2 separate regions of the Homo sapiens genome follow, and region 2 is linked to region 1. The links are contacts of gene promoters, found by promoter capture Hi-C in human tissues and cell types (Jung and others, 2019). All regions are on one chromosome and are shown on one strand. Each heading gives the region's core, a stretch centred on a gene start or on the middle of the fragment in contact. The rest is flanking DNA. Distances are from core to core; before and after follow the strand shown.

Region 1 (6,630 bases), core at 1,593-4,092:
GGGAGTGCTGGCAAGGAAGGAAGCTACTGGTTCCCATTTGCTGTTTTAGAAACGAGGACATTCAGGCCGGGCAGGGTGGCTCACGCCTGTAGTCCCAGCACTTTGGGAGGCCGAGGCGGGTGGATCACCTGAGGTAGGGAGTTTGAGACCAGCCTGACCAACATGGAGAAACCTCCTCTCTACTAAAAACACAAAATTAGCCGGGCATGTTGGTGCCTGCCTGTAATCCCAGCTATTTGGGAGGCTGAGGCAGGAGAATCATTTGAACCTGGGAGGCTGAGGTTGTGGTGAGCTGCTGAGATCAGGCCATTTTACTCCAGCAGGGGGGCAACAAGAGCGAAACTCAGTCAAAAAAAAAAAAAAAAAAAAAAAAGAAAAGAAAAAAAAGAAATGAGGACATTCAGAAGGTGAAATGGAGTAGGATGACGCCAACACTGTTTTTCTCTCCACTTGTTTAGATACTAGCAGAGTTGAGCTGGGTTGGAGTTGGTGTGTGGTCCATGGTGTGGGGTATCTGTGAGTGGGGTTCTGGGAGTGTGAGACAGATATCCATGTAGTCAAGAGCAAGCTTGAGGTATGTGTAGGGTTGCCAGATAAAATAAATCTGCTAAATCTAGCAACCCTAGGTATGTGAGTTTCCTTGGACTCATGCAAGAAGCTTCTCTCCAAGACCTTTTTCCCCGGACAGTCTGTCACCCAGGAAATTCCAATTCCAGGGCTACTAGTCCCTGTCCAATTTGCTGTCCATGGTTTGAGGACGAGATTTCTCTTTTTTCCAATGACAGTTTATGCTGGAACAGCACATTAAATGGATCCCCTTGGTCAGAGGTCCCAGAGGGGGCCCAGGCGACTTCCTCTCAAAGGACATGAGTAGTCAGACCTGCCTTCCATTTTTTTCTGCCCTTACCTTGGGGGGATGAAGAACTCTATTTTGAGGATTCTGTGAAAAGGGTTGCAACCCAACTCTGTTCTATTTCTTTGCAGGAGCCTGGGTGAGTTCTTTCTCCCTATCCTGGGCCTCTGTAGCTCCATCTGTGGAATGGGAGAGTTGGATTAACACCAGGCTATCCCGTAGATTGGAGGCTGCTGTTAGATGAAACTGCAAAGTGTTCTCAGTACCCTTTCCTAAATGGCCTAGAATATGGCTACACTTATACATCAGTTCTGAGGTAGGTGTTACTAGCCTCATTTTTACAAAGGCAGAAACAAAGCGCAAAGAACCTTGCCCAAGGTGACAGATAGGGTAAGTAGTGAAGGCAGGATTGGAACCCCAGGAGCCTGACTTAAGGTCGCTGCTCTTAACTACTATGCAGACCAGGAAACTGAGGCTCCGAAGCGGGGAAGTCACCTAATGAGGGTCACACAGCCTTGCTACAGCGGAGGCAGCTGGGATTCCGGCCTCGCACGCCCGAGCTTTAGCCACTGTGCGGCGCTGTCGGGGCAGCAGCCCAGGCATCCGCTCAGTTCCTGCTCACGTCCAGCGCCCATCTCCCCTTCCGTGCCCCAGAGGCTGAAATGGGCCCAATCTGTGTTGAAGCTGCTTGTTTCTGGGTCCTGGAGGGAGGCCGGGGGAGAAAGAGGTCTAATAGGATGGGCAGGAACCCGGCTAGCGAGAAACAAGGCACAGGGCCAACCTTAGTTGCACAAGACTTTTGAGAGATGAAGGCAACACTTGGTGGAGGTCAGGGTTCACTGAGGGGGTGTCGGGCAGGGGGCGGAGGAGGTCCTGCCGCCTGTCGGTGGGGCCCAGAACCCTGGGAGCCAGGAAGGTGGGGGGTGTCCAGTCCTCAGGGCAACTGGGGCCAGGGAGAGGGGAGGGAGAAATTAAGCGGATTCCCAGACCCATGAACAGACATCCAGACAAATGCCGTTTCCACAGAGACTCACGGAGAGTGAGATAGTCACAGAGACTGAGACAAACGGATGCCGAGATCCAGAGGGTCGGAGAACAGGCAAACTCGGAGCAGTAGACCGGCCCGCGCCCCGGGAACGCGGCCACAGCGGCCGGCGCTCTGCCCGGCCTCTCCGCGCGGAGAGGGGTGGCGGGCCCGACAGCGGAGGGAGGAGAGGGCGCCGCCGCAATCTCACCTCTCCCAGGCCCAAGGCTGCGGGCGCCAAGTTCGCTCCTGGTGATCACTCGAATGCGTCTCCCCTCGGGCTGGAAGCCGTGCGGGCTCGGGTGGGCGCCGGCGGGCCGCGCTGGGGCGGCGTGGGTCCCGGCGTCTCAGCCTCGCGCTCCCACTGCGCTTCGGCCCGGTGGCCCGGGCGCCGCCTTGGGGAGAGGACGGGTGGGGACCGCCGCCACTTCCCTGGCTGCGGCTGGCGCCCGAGTGAGCCTTAACATCCAGGGGCTGAGCGTTCTGAAGGCGGCGGCTTCAGGGAGCACAGGGTGCAGGAGCGGCGGCGAAGACAAGGGCCCGCCTCCGGCCACTCGAGCCCAGCTCCCGCCGCGGCGGCGGTTTGTTCCCGCCGGGTCCCTCAGCGGAGGCGCTACGCCCGCCCCTGTCGCCTCGCCCCACCCCGCCCAGGGAGCTCCGCCCTAGCCCGCAGCTCTTCCGCCTTAGGCAGCCGCTAGGCGGGAGGGACAATCCCCCACCACCAACCACTGCCACCCCGAGGGGACTAGGGGCTGAGGCCCGCCCAGGTAAGGGAAAGCCTCAGCTCCTTCCGTTGCGCCCCAGCGGCGGGTCCCAGCTCGGATTCCCGGGGTAGTGGCGGGGGCCGCCGGCGGGTCGTGCCCTGGAAGGTGAGCGCGGCCGAGCTGGGCCGCCAGGGGGCGCTGCGGAGCCGGGGGACACCCCTCCCTGCCTGCCTCAGTCCCCCGCCCCCTCCCCGCCCGCGCGCAAAACGCACTCGCCCCAGAGGCAGCGCGGCCGAGCCCGAGCCGCTGCCGGAGCGGAGCCGGAGAGTGGCGGCGGCGGCGGCAGCGGCACCATGACCCTGGGCAGCTGCTGCTGCGAGATCATGTCCTCCGAGAGCTCCCCGGCCGCGCTGTCCGAGGCCGACGCAGACATAGACGTGGTGGGCGGCGGCAGCGGCGGGGGGGAGCTCCCAGCTCGCTCCGGGCCCCGCGCCCCCCGGGACGTGCTCCCCCACGGCCACGAGCCTCCCGCGGAGGAAGCCGAGGCAGACTTAGCCGAGGACGAGGAGGAGTCTGGTGGCTGCTCGGACGGCGAGCCCCGCGCTCTGGCGTCCCGGGGGGCGGCGGCCGCAGCGGGGAGCCCGGGGCCAGGCGCCGCGGCGGCCCGCGGCGCAGCGGGGCCCGGGCCGGGACCGCCGTCGGGGGGCGCGGCGACGCGGAGCCCGCTGGTGAAGCCGCCCTACTCGTACATCGCGCTCATCACCATGGCCATCCTGCAGAGCCCCAAGAAGCGGCTGACGTTGAGCGAGATCTGCGAGTTCATCAGCGGCCGCTTCCCCTACTACCGGGAGAAGTTCCCCGCCTGGCAGAACAGCATCCGCCACAACCTCTCTCTCAACGACTGCTTCGTCAAGATCCCCCGCGAGCCGGGCAACCCGGGCAAGGGCAACTACTGGACGCTGGACCCGGAGTCGGCCGACATGTTCGACAACGGCAGCTTCCTGCGGCGTCGCAAGCGCTTCAAGCGGCAGCCCCTGCCGCCGCCGCACCCACACCCGCACCCTCACCCGGAGCTGCTGCTGCGTGGCGGGGCCGCGGCGGCGGGGGATCCCGGCGCTTTCCTGCCCGGCTTCGCTGCCTACGGCGCCTACGGCTACGGCTACGGGCTGGCTCTCCCGGCCTACGGCGCACCCCCGCCGGGGCCGGCCCCGCATCCGCACCCGCACCCGCACGCCTTCGCTTTCGCCGCGGCAGCCGCCGCCGCTCCTTGCCAGCTGTCGGTACCCCCAGGCCGCGCCGCCGCGCCTCCACCCGGACCTCCGACGGCCTCGGTGTTCGCAGGCGCGGGATCGGCCCCAGCTCCTGCGCCTGCCTCAGGCTCGGGCCCGGGCCCGGGCCCCGCAGGCCTGCCCGCCTTCCTGGGCGCGGAGCTGGGCTGCGCCAAAGCCTTCTACGCGGCGTCCCTGAGTCCTCCCGCAGCCGGCACCGCGGCGGGTCTGCCCACCGCACTTCTGCGCCAGGGCCTCAAGACGGACGCGGGCGGTGGTGCAGGCGGCGGGGGCGCCGGGGCAGGGCAGAGGCCTTCCTTCTCTATAGACCACATCATGGGCCACGGTGGCGGCGGGGCAGCACCCCCGGGCGCCGGCGAGGGCTCTCCGGGACCGCCATTCGCGGCAGCCGCGGGTCCTGGGGGCCAAGCCCAGGTCTTGGCCATGCTGACTGCTCCGGCCCTGGCTCCCGTTGCTGGCCACATTCGCCTCTCGCATCCCGGGGACGCGCTGCTGTCCTCAGGGTCCCGGTTTGCCAGCAAAGTCGCCGGCCTTAGTGGCTGCCACTTCTGACCGCAGCAGGCCCAGGGCCGGTTAGGTCCGCACTCCTCAGCCTCTCCCGGGAGTTCCTGCGGTCCCAGCGGAACTCAGGGAGTCTATTTATGAAGTCTCCAGACCTTGGGCCGGCACGCGTGACACGGCACTTCAGGCTCCACGCACAGAATCTCGCAGATAGTTGGGACTAAGCGGGCTCTATCGCTCAGGGCGACAGGCCCGGGGCTACGCGAAGAAGTCGCAGGCCAAGATTCTTTACAGTTTGAGAAATAAAAGCAGGGGGGTGGGGGCTTCGTTTTTTTCCCTGCCTCTGCGCCTCTCGGGGAACACATTCCGGGAGAGATGCCTGGCCAGGCTCCACGGATCCCGCCAGAAACACCAACAGAGGGTCTCCCTTTCTGCCTTTCCCCTCTCACTTCTTCCCCAACGTTGAGACCCTGCTTGTCCAATATTATAATTTAAAGACATCTATTATCTGCTTTGTGCTTAAAAGAAAAATTCAACCTTTTTTTTTTTTTTTTTTTTTTTGCTGTTCTCCAAGGAAGTTCGTTTCCTCTGAAGCCTAAACCAGTGTCTACGCAGGCGGAGCTGAACGGAGAGGTGAAGCAGGGGGTCTTTATATTCCCTGCAGAAACCCTGGATCCCACTCCACTGAGGAAAATCCTTTCTCTTTTGTGTTTGGGTGCTTTTAAAGGAATTTCTTTCCTTTCCCTTGGCTGGCTGGGTCCAGCCATCTCCGGCCAGCAACCCTGTCAGTGTTCCACCCTGTCCCAGGCCCTGTGATATTTATTGTGGCTAAAGGCAATGAGATTGGGTGGAAGAGAAGGGTCTGGGCCAGGGACTGGAGAGGTGGGGGTGGAGTGGGCAAGGGCACACCCTGTGGCAGGGGGTCCTATAATTTTGTGTAAATATCTGTACAGCGCGCTGCTCTCGGCGTTCTCTGTCCACTGGGTGTGCATTGATTTAAACTTCTCCACTGTGGGGAAGCTCTGTGAAATCGTCTGATGGTCTGTGTGGAAGAAAAGAAAAATCTGTCTGCCGCCTATTTCCCATTGGTGTCGATTGAATAAATGTATGTGAACTTCAGCAGTCACCAGCTCTGTCTGCTTGCCTGCACTCCCTTGCCCCTGATGGGGCTCTCCCAGAAGAGCTTAGCTCCCCAACAGAGGGGGAGTGAGGAAAGGCCCCTGGGCAGCCCAAGCAGGCAGAGAGGGGTTTGAGCTTAGAGGATGCAAGGGGCACTTTGGTCTTGGCCTTCAGCTGTTAATGAGGCCGAATCTCTGGGAAGCCTGTGGCCTCTCCAGCACTTTCATTTTCGTTCTAGTCCTAAGAAGGTTGTTGCCTGGAGTTTTGCCTGGGGTTGTGTTTCCACTGCACCTGAGGATTCTCATGTCCTTCTAGTTTGGATGTTGGCATGGCCTGGGCAGATCTGGGTGCTAAGGGTTCATGAACACTCTACCCACTAAGTACAATTTAAGGTGAATATATCTGGTGATGTGTACTCTGTATGCCTCTGTTTCTGAGTGAAGGGCTTTTATGGAACTTATGATTTGTTTTTGTGTTTGTCTGGGTCGGCACAGCTCCTTGCTTTTTTTTTTGTGTGTGTGTGTGTGTGAATTGTATTTCAGAATATCTGCATTATTATTTCTATGTATGTTGGTGAACATGTCTTTGTGTGTGTTTGTGATTCTCAGTTGCTGTCTTTCTGTCTCTGAGAGGAGACAGGTTTCTCCCTGGCGGCTTTAGGGCCTTGTCTGGAATCCCCTCTCCCCCCCCCGCCACCCCCTAACACATGTAACAGAGTAAAAGGCTTGGACTGGGGACTGTGAAACCTTTCTTTCCTCCAGCCCAAGAGGGTTAGAGGGGCACTATGAGCTGAATGAAAGAGTCAGTGGAGTAACACTCAAGGTAAAACTTCCCATCCCGTGAGCAAGACTCATAGCTGGAAGCTACTGCCTGAGTACAAATCCATTGGTCTGGTTGGAGTCTTCCATAAACCCATTGAGTCTCCCAGCTCTCTGCCTATGCCTGGGACTCCCAGTGGCCAGACTTGCCAGTGTGTTGAGTGAGAGGTGATCTTTGGGTGAAGCAGAGATGATTGCTTAGCTCTTTTCTCTATATATTCCAGTGAGATTATAGGAGAGGAGAAACAGAGGTGCAAGAAGAGGCAGTGTAGACTTCACAGAAAACAGACACATGTTGAGGGCAAGGGTTGGGAGATGAAGT
Region 2 (6,578 bases), core at 2,555-5,054, 83 kb after region 1:
GTCTTGGTGGCAGAGTGAGGGAGATTCCCAGGGTAGCTCCGGAAGGAACTTCACTAGACCTCTCTCCTGGCCTCTCCCAGGGCTCTTGCCTCTGCTTTCAGTGACAAAGAGCTTACCACCTCACTAGAGGGTGATCCTGTGGTGTTTCCTGGAAGAGTACCTTGGGTAGAGGCATCTGGAGATGACAGAGGGGTAGGCGTGGGCTGGGGGGTCAGGGAAACTATTCTGGATGTGGAGGGGGATAATTAGCTCCTCAGTGCTGACTGGCTGGGTACCACGTGATAAGCACAGTGCTGGACAAAGAGTCACAGATTACCTTGTCTTCTGACCAATAGTGGGAGTCCTGGGTTACAGTTCTGAAGCTCACTTAAATGTGTAACATGTACACATAAAAGCCTAAGCTTTGGGATGAGACAGGTAGAGCACAAACCCCAGCCTCACCACCTACCACCAGGTTCCTTTACACAAATAATCTCTCCAAATTCAGTTTTCTTATGTGTAAAATGGGGATAAAGACCCCTATTTCTTGGGGGTGGGGTAGAATACGTGGGCCACAGGAGAGTTTGGAAAATGATGGCCATTCCCACAGTGGTATCTCACCTTTATCATCCTTACACATGTCGTCTCTCCAGCTGGGGATCTCAGGTTCTCTTATGGTTCCAACCACAGTCCATGTATCAACAACACAAACCTCAATCTGTCTCTAGATCTTTCTAGAGCTGTAGACTGGCTGTCCATCTGCCTCCTGGTCCGTCTCCTGGATTTGGGACCAGAAACCTGGGTTAGCTCCCATAGTTCCTTGATTCTTTGATTACAAGATTTGCAGGCCCATGCTTTCCTCTCTAGCCTTTCTGTCAACAGCTTCTCTCCCTTTTACCCCCTCCCATCTTACTCTGGCAACACAGAGCATTTCTCAGTCCCCTCAGTGTTGCTCCACTGGCCCTGCTACCTCTTAGCTTCTGCTCACACTCATGTATCTGCTTGGAACACCCTCCCCTCACTCTCTACCCAGCTACCTCTTACTTCTCCTTTCGGTTTAGATGTCACCTCCTGAGACTCAGATTGCCGTGGTCTAAATGTATGCATCCCTCCCACCCTCAAATTCATATGTTGAAACCTAACCTCCAAGGTGATGGCATTAAGTATTAAGAGGTGGGGCCTTTGGGAGGTAACTAGGTCATGAGGGCAGAGCCCTCATGAATGGGATTAGTGCCCTTATAAAAGAGGGTCCAGGGAACTTCTGCCATGTGAGGGTGCAATAGCAAGGCACCATCTTTGAAGCGGAGAGCTAGCCTTTACCAGATACTGAATCTGCCAGTGTCTTGATCTTGGACTTCCCAGTCTCCAGAACCATAAGGAATAAATTTCTGTTGTTTATAAATTACCCGGTCTAAGGCATTTGTTATAGCAGCCTGTGCAAGCTAAGACACGGGTGGTCTGGGTGCTATGGCTGCAGTATCCTAGTAGTGGTGGGGCAGCTATGCATTCATTCATTTGTTCACTCATTCACTCAGCAAGCACTCATGGAGCTCATATTCAGGCACTGTGGTACTAGAACACTGAAGGGAGATGTACAGCACATGCTTAAGAGTAGTGACTTAGCTGCTCACCTGGCCAAAGTATGACTCCTGACCCTGCCACTTTCCAACTGTGTAACCTTGAAAACCTGTCTAACCTCTCTGAGCTTTAGATTCCACAAGGTAAAATGGGGGAAAACATGGGCCTTTTCTCTGAGGATTGCTGTGAAGATGAATAGGGATAACCCACATTATGTGGTTAGCCAAGCTTGGCCTGTAGCCACTCAGTGCTTAGTGATTGCTACTGCAAAGCCTCAGCTTAAGGGCCACAGGGCATTATTATCATTATTATGAATAAGACTCAGTGCCTGTATCCTTCAGAGTCCCTGGATCTGGTGGCAGAAACTGGCCTATAAATAGGAAATGATAATAAGGGCATGGGGGTAGCCAGAGAGGGCTATATAAGAGTGGAGTCAGGGCCAGGAGTGATGTCTCATACCTGTAATCCCAGCACTTTGGAAGGTCGAGGTGGGCAGATTACCTGAGGTCAGGAGTTCAAGACCAGCCTGGCCAACATGGTGAGACCCCCATCTCTAATAAAAATACAAAAATTAGCCTGGCATGGTGGCACACACCTGGAATCCAAGCTACTCCAGAGGCTGAGGGAGGAGAATCGCTTGAACCCAGGAGGCTGAGGTTGCAGTGAGCCGAGACGGCACCATTGCACTCCAGCTTGGGTGATAGAGCGAGAATTCGTCAAAAAAAAAAACAAAAACCAAACAAACAAAAAACCAAAAAACTAATCTCTAGTGTGTTAGAAGTCAGAACAGTGTTTGCCTCTGGAGGGTGGAATTGACTGGGGAAGGTTTTGAGACTCCGTCTCTAAAAAAAATAGAAAAACGGGTGGAGTCAGGACCGGGGCCCAGGTCTCTGACTACAGCATCGTGCTACTCAGAGTTGTGATTTCAAAGTGTGTTTTACTGGACTGTGAGCTCCCTGAAGGCCAGAGCCTTATCTGATCCAACTCAGTGGGCCAAGGACAGGTTGATGCACCCAAGAATGTCTGATGGATGACTGAATACATCATGTTATGAATCAGTGATGGTGTGGGCAGGGAGGGAGGGTGGATGAAGACATGATGGATCAGGAGGAGGTATAGCCTTGACTCTGCCCAAGGCAGTTAATCCTTTTAAAACTAAGTTTCTTTAGCTATAGAATGGGCATCAGCCATACAGACCACACAGTGGCTTTGAAGATTCGATGTGAGAAAAGCCCTGGACACTGGCCGGTGAGTGCAGCTTTTGGGCAGCAAAGCAGGATAAGCACCTGGAGTGGGGCTGGGGCTGCTGATGACTGTGGAACTCTGGCTGAAGGGCACACTATCCTCTGAGAGGAGAAGGTGAGCACTGGAGTGACATGAGACTCTCTGTCCATCTGTGCAGGGAGCTACATGAGCAAACAGAGCCGTCCACTGGTGAACAAGGCCATCCCTGGCTGGCCTGTCTGTCACTCACAATAAGCCAGGACTTATCTCTTTAGGTCAGCGTGGGCCTTTGGGGAAGAGCTGTCACTGTCCTTGCCTGCTGAGGAGGGCCCTGTCTCCAGGAAGAGCTGTGCTTGCTGAAGAGCTATCACTGACTCAGGAGGCATCTTTAACCTAGCTCCAACTGCATGGCCCAGGATTTGAAGCCGGCATTAATTGACCTGAGAGTTGTTCATGTAGGAAGAAGTTTGCTGGCACCTGGGAAGTCAATACTAATAATAATAGTCTTTCCATAGGCCCAGCACCCTACAGTTTGCAAATTCTCTTCCTCCTCTCCTCCCACTTAACAAATTTCCTTCTTTGGCTTTCTTACAAGCCTTGGAAGATAAAATAGTATTTTCACGATCATTTATCAGAAAATAAAGCTGAAGCCCAAGGACGACGAGTGCCTTGTCCAGGTTTCTAGGCAAGTCCAGGGCAGAGCTGGGACCAAGACGCCCGTGTCCTGATTCCTAGCCATGCCTCTTTGCTCTGTAGTCCTAGGAGGTGACTTCTTGGCCAAGCACGCATGACCACCTCCAGCTTCTTGGACAGCCACAAAGCATCAGGTTTACTGGACTCAGGGGCCTTTAGGTGAATCCTTCACACTTTGGTTGGCCATCTTCCATTTTTGTGGGTTTTCTCTGCGCCTTACCTCAGCAGAGGCTCAGAAAGGGGCTTGAAGGTAAGGTGTTGTGTACAGGACAGCCGGGCTAAGTGGGGGCTTCCATGTCTACTACTCACAGGGTATAAATGATAAATGGAATTGGGGGCTGAGGGATGCTGGGATTCCCTTTGTACAGAGGCCATGAAGGCACCAAAGGGGGTGGTGATTGGGAATCTGGAGTGAAGGCAGGAGAAAGGCCCTGCCCCACCCTCATCTAGGAGGCATCATAACCCAGTTAAGGCCACTCTGGAGCCAAACACATGAGGTTCCAATCCCTACCCGTCCACTTCTCAGGGAGCACTTTACAATCTCTATGCCTTAGCTTGCTCAGACTTAAAATGGCACAGTCATACTAGCATAGGGCTCATTGGGTTGTCAGGAGGATTGAATGAGGTGATACGTGTACAGTTCCTGGAACAATGCCTTAAACACACGGGAAACATTCGACATGACCTTGATTTGCTCTCCCCTGGCCAGAAGGGAGGGAGATAGACCTTTTACAGTTGGATATTTCCTCTCCTTTGGGAAGTCACAGCTCAGGGATTACCTGGGAGGGTGAGGGTGACCATGCCCATCTACCCCCTTGCCAGAGCTGAAGAGGGAAGGGGCGGGGCTGTGAGATCTGTGGTGTGGTGCTGAAGGAGCTGCTGCCTCACAGCCTCATGCCCAGCCCGTCCCCGGTGATAAATCACAAACATATTTTTAATGATTATTTAAAGCTCTTGGCTGCATGCCTGTTCTGGAAGGGCCATCTTAGCCCTTGTCAGGCCGTGGCAGATTGAAGGGAAGCTTGCACATCACTTATTGAGGGTGACTTCTTTTATTCCATTATTTTTATAATAGACTCACTGACAAAATATTGTTCTTGGCCCCAGCCTGGCCCCTTTGCTTGTGTTCGGAGGTAACAGGCTGCCCCGGCCAGGGAACTGCAAGTTTCCCATCAAGAGGGAGGCAGACAAGGGCTCGGCAATTCCTCATCCACCAGAGTATTATTTGCAGGGTGAGGAGGGAGTGAGTCTTGCAGGGTGAGGAGGGAGTGAGTAGTTAGCAGCCTTGTTTAGTGAACTGTAGGCCTGGGCCCAAGTCCCCTCCGCTCAGTTCCGAGGGGTGAGAAATGAGGCAGAGAGGAGAGATCAGGGGGTTGTGTGTGCTTCCCGGTTCTGTTTTCATTCACTGGCAAACATTTATACTGAGCACACATGCTCAGCACTGTCCCCACCACACCCTGCCAAACAGGGCCATCTAGGAAAGTGATCATCAAACTGTGCCTCATGGAACCCTAGGGTTCAGAAATTACAACACTGGTATTTTCTGGAAATTACCAGGATGGGGTATGTAGGAAAGAAGTGGAGCTCTGGGCCTGCCACCCCATCCTCAGCCTGAGTAGCCCTGATTTTATTTTGCTTTGACTTTGAGCTTCTCTCTAAGGTTTCATTTGAAGAATGGATTCTTCTGGTTAAAAGTTTGAATATCACTGTTAATTCCTTTATTGTACAAAAGGGAAACAGAGGCCCAGAGAGGGGACAGAGTTGCCCAAGGTCACATAGACATTTGCAGAGTAAGGATCCATCTCCTGGCCCCCAGCTGTGTGAGGAGCTGGAACTGGCATGTGAAACAATCAGAGAACAAGAAACATTGGTCTGGAACCAAGTTTGCAGACCAGGTCATGAATATCCTCATGTGTGACCATCCTTTCCAGGTATGTCTGTGGGAGCCCAGAATTATGCACCCTCCCAGGTATGTTAGTCTGCTTGGGCTCCTATAACAAAATACCATAGATTGTGTGGCTTTAATAAAAGAAATTAATTTTCTCATACTTCTGGAGGCTGGAAGTCCGAGACCAAGGTGCCAGCTTCCAGCATAGTTGGGTTCTGGTGAGGGCTCTCTTCTTGGCTTGTAGACAGCTGCCTTCTTGCTGTATAAGAGGGAGAGAGAGAGAGAGAGGTGAGAGAATCATTGGGATCTCATGTTTTCTTTTTATAAGCGCATTAATTCCATCATGAAGGTTCTACCCTCATGACCTAATCTAACCCTAATAATTTCTCAAAGGCCCCACCTCCAAATATCCTCACATTGGAGATTGGGGTTTCAACATATGAACTTTGAGGAGGACACAGACATTCAGTCCGTAGCACAGGAGTGTCCATTCTATTCAGCTCAGTTTCAATGGTCTCCATTGCATTCAGCGAGCATATAACCTGTGGGAGTCCAGCTGCCCTGACCTTGAGGTCAGTGTCCTGAAACTCCCATGGTCCAAGATTCACAGACTTTGGACCTGCTGGGGAAAACAGCACTGGGGGAAAATATCTCAGGCAGGATGCCAGGAGGAAACAGATGGCATGCTAAGGTTGGCTAATGTTGGTGAGTTTTTTTTTATGTTGGTAAAATGTATATAGCATAAAATTTATCATTTTAACCACTTTTAAGTATACAGTTCAGTGGCATTAAGTATATTCGCACTGTTGTGTAACCATCACGATCATCCATCTCCAGAATGGTTTTATCTTCCCCAACCGAAACTTTGTACCCTTTTAAACACGAACTCCCCATTCTCTCTTCCCCTCCCCCTGGTATCCATTGTTCTACTCTCTATCTCTCTGAATTTGCCCATTCTAGGTATGGAGGTGAGTTTCTAGAAGGGACTATTTACAAAAGTGTAGGGAGGGCTTGAAAAAAGCAATAAGGGATGGGGCAGTGCTCTGGGGCTGGTCACGTCAGGAAGCTAGTACCACCGCTAGGTACTGAAAACTGGAGAGACCGTTCTATGGCAGGTGTTGGCTGCCAGGGGCTGTGGCTTTCCAATTAGAGGGATGTGCCAATTCCTGGTGTGCCAGCTCTCCCTCTGACTCTGCCGAGTCTCCACTGTCCTATC

Evidence for each region. Contacts are between HindIII fragments. The study calls those that stand out against the background at their distance.
Region 2: a fragment that was not itself captured here is called in contact with the fragment with the promoter of FOXD2 in region 1 in 4 of the 25 tissues and cell types used here (bladder, mesenchymal stem cells, mesendoderm cells and 1 more).

The regions. Positions count from the first base shown.
Region 1 is chr1:47,435,202-47,441,831 of GRCh38, forward strand. FOXD2 (forkhead box D2) reads left to right here and starts at 2,843. Exons shown (of 1, transcript NM_004474.4): 1 at 2,843-5,490. The coding sequence starts at 2,935. The coding sequence ends at 4,422. LINC01389 (long intergenic non-protein coding RNA 1389) reads right to left here and starts at 2,116. Exons shown (of 5, transcript NR_126355.1): 1 at 2,089-2,116. RefSeq lists silencers at 1,323-1,482, 1,963-2,862, 2,893-3,072 and an enhancer at 4,261-5,030. The HindIII fragment of the contact is 12,527 bases long and covers 1-6,630 here.
Region 2 is chr1:47,517,134-47,523,711 of GRCh38, forward strand. No RefSeq gene overlaps it. Among named protein-coding and RNA genes, the nearest start is that of FOXD2, 82 kb to the left of the region's middle. The HindIII fragment of the contact is 5,422 bases long and covers 1,094-6,515 here.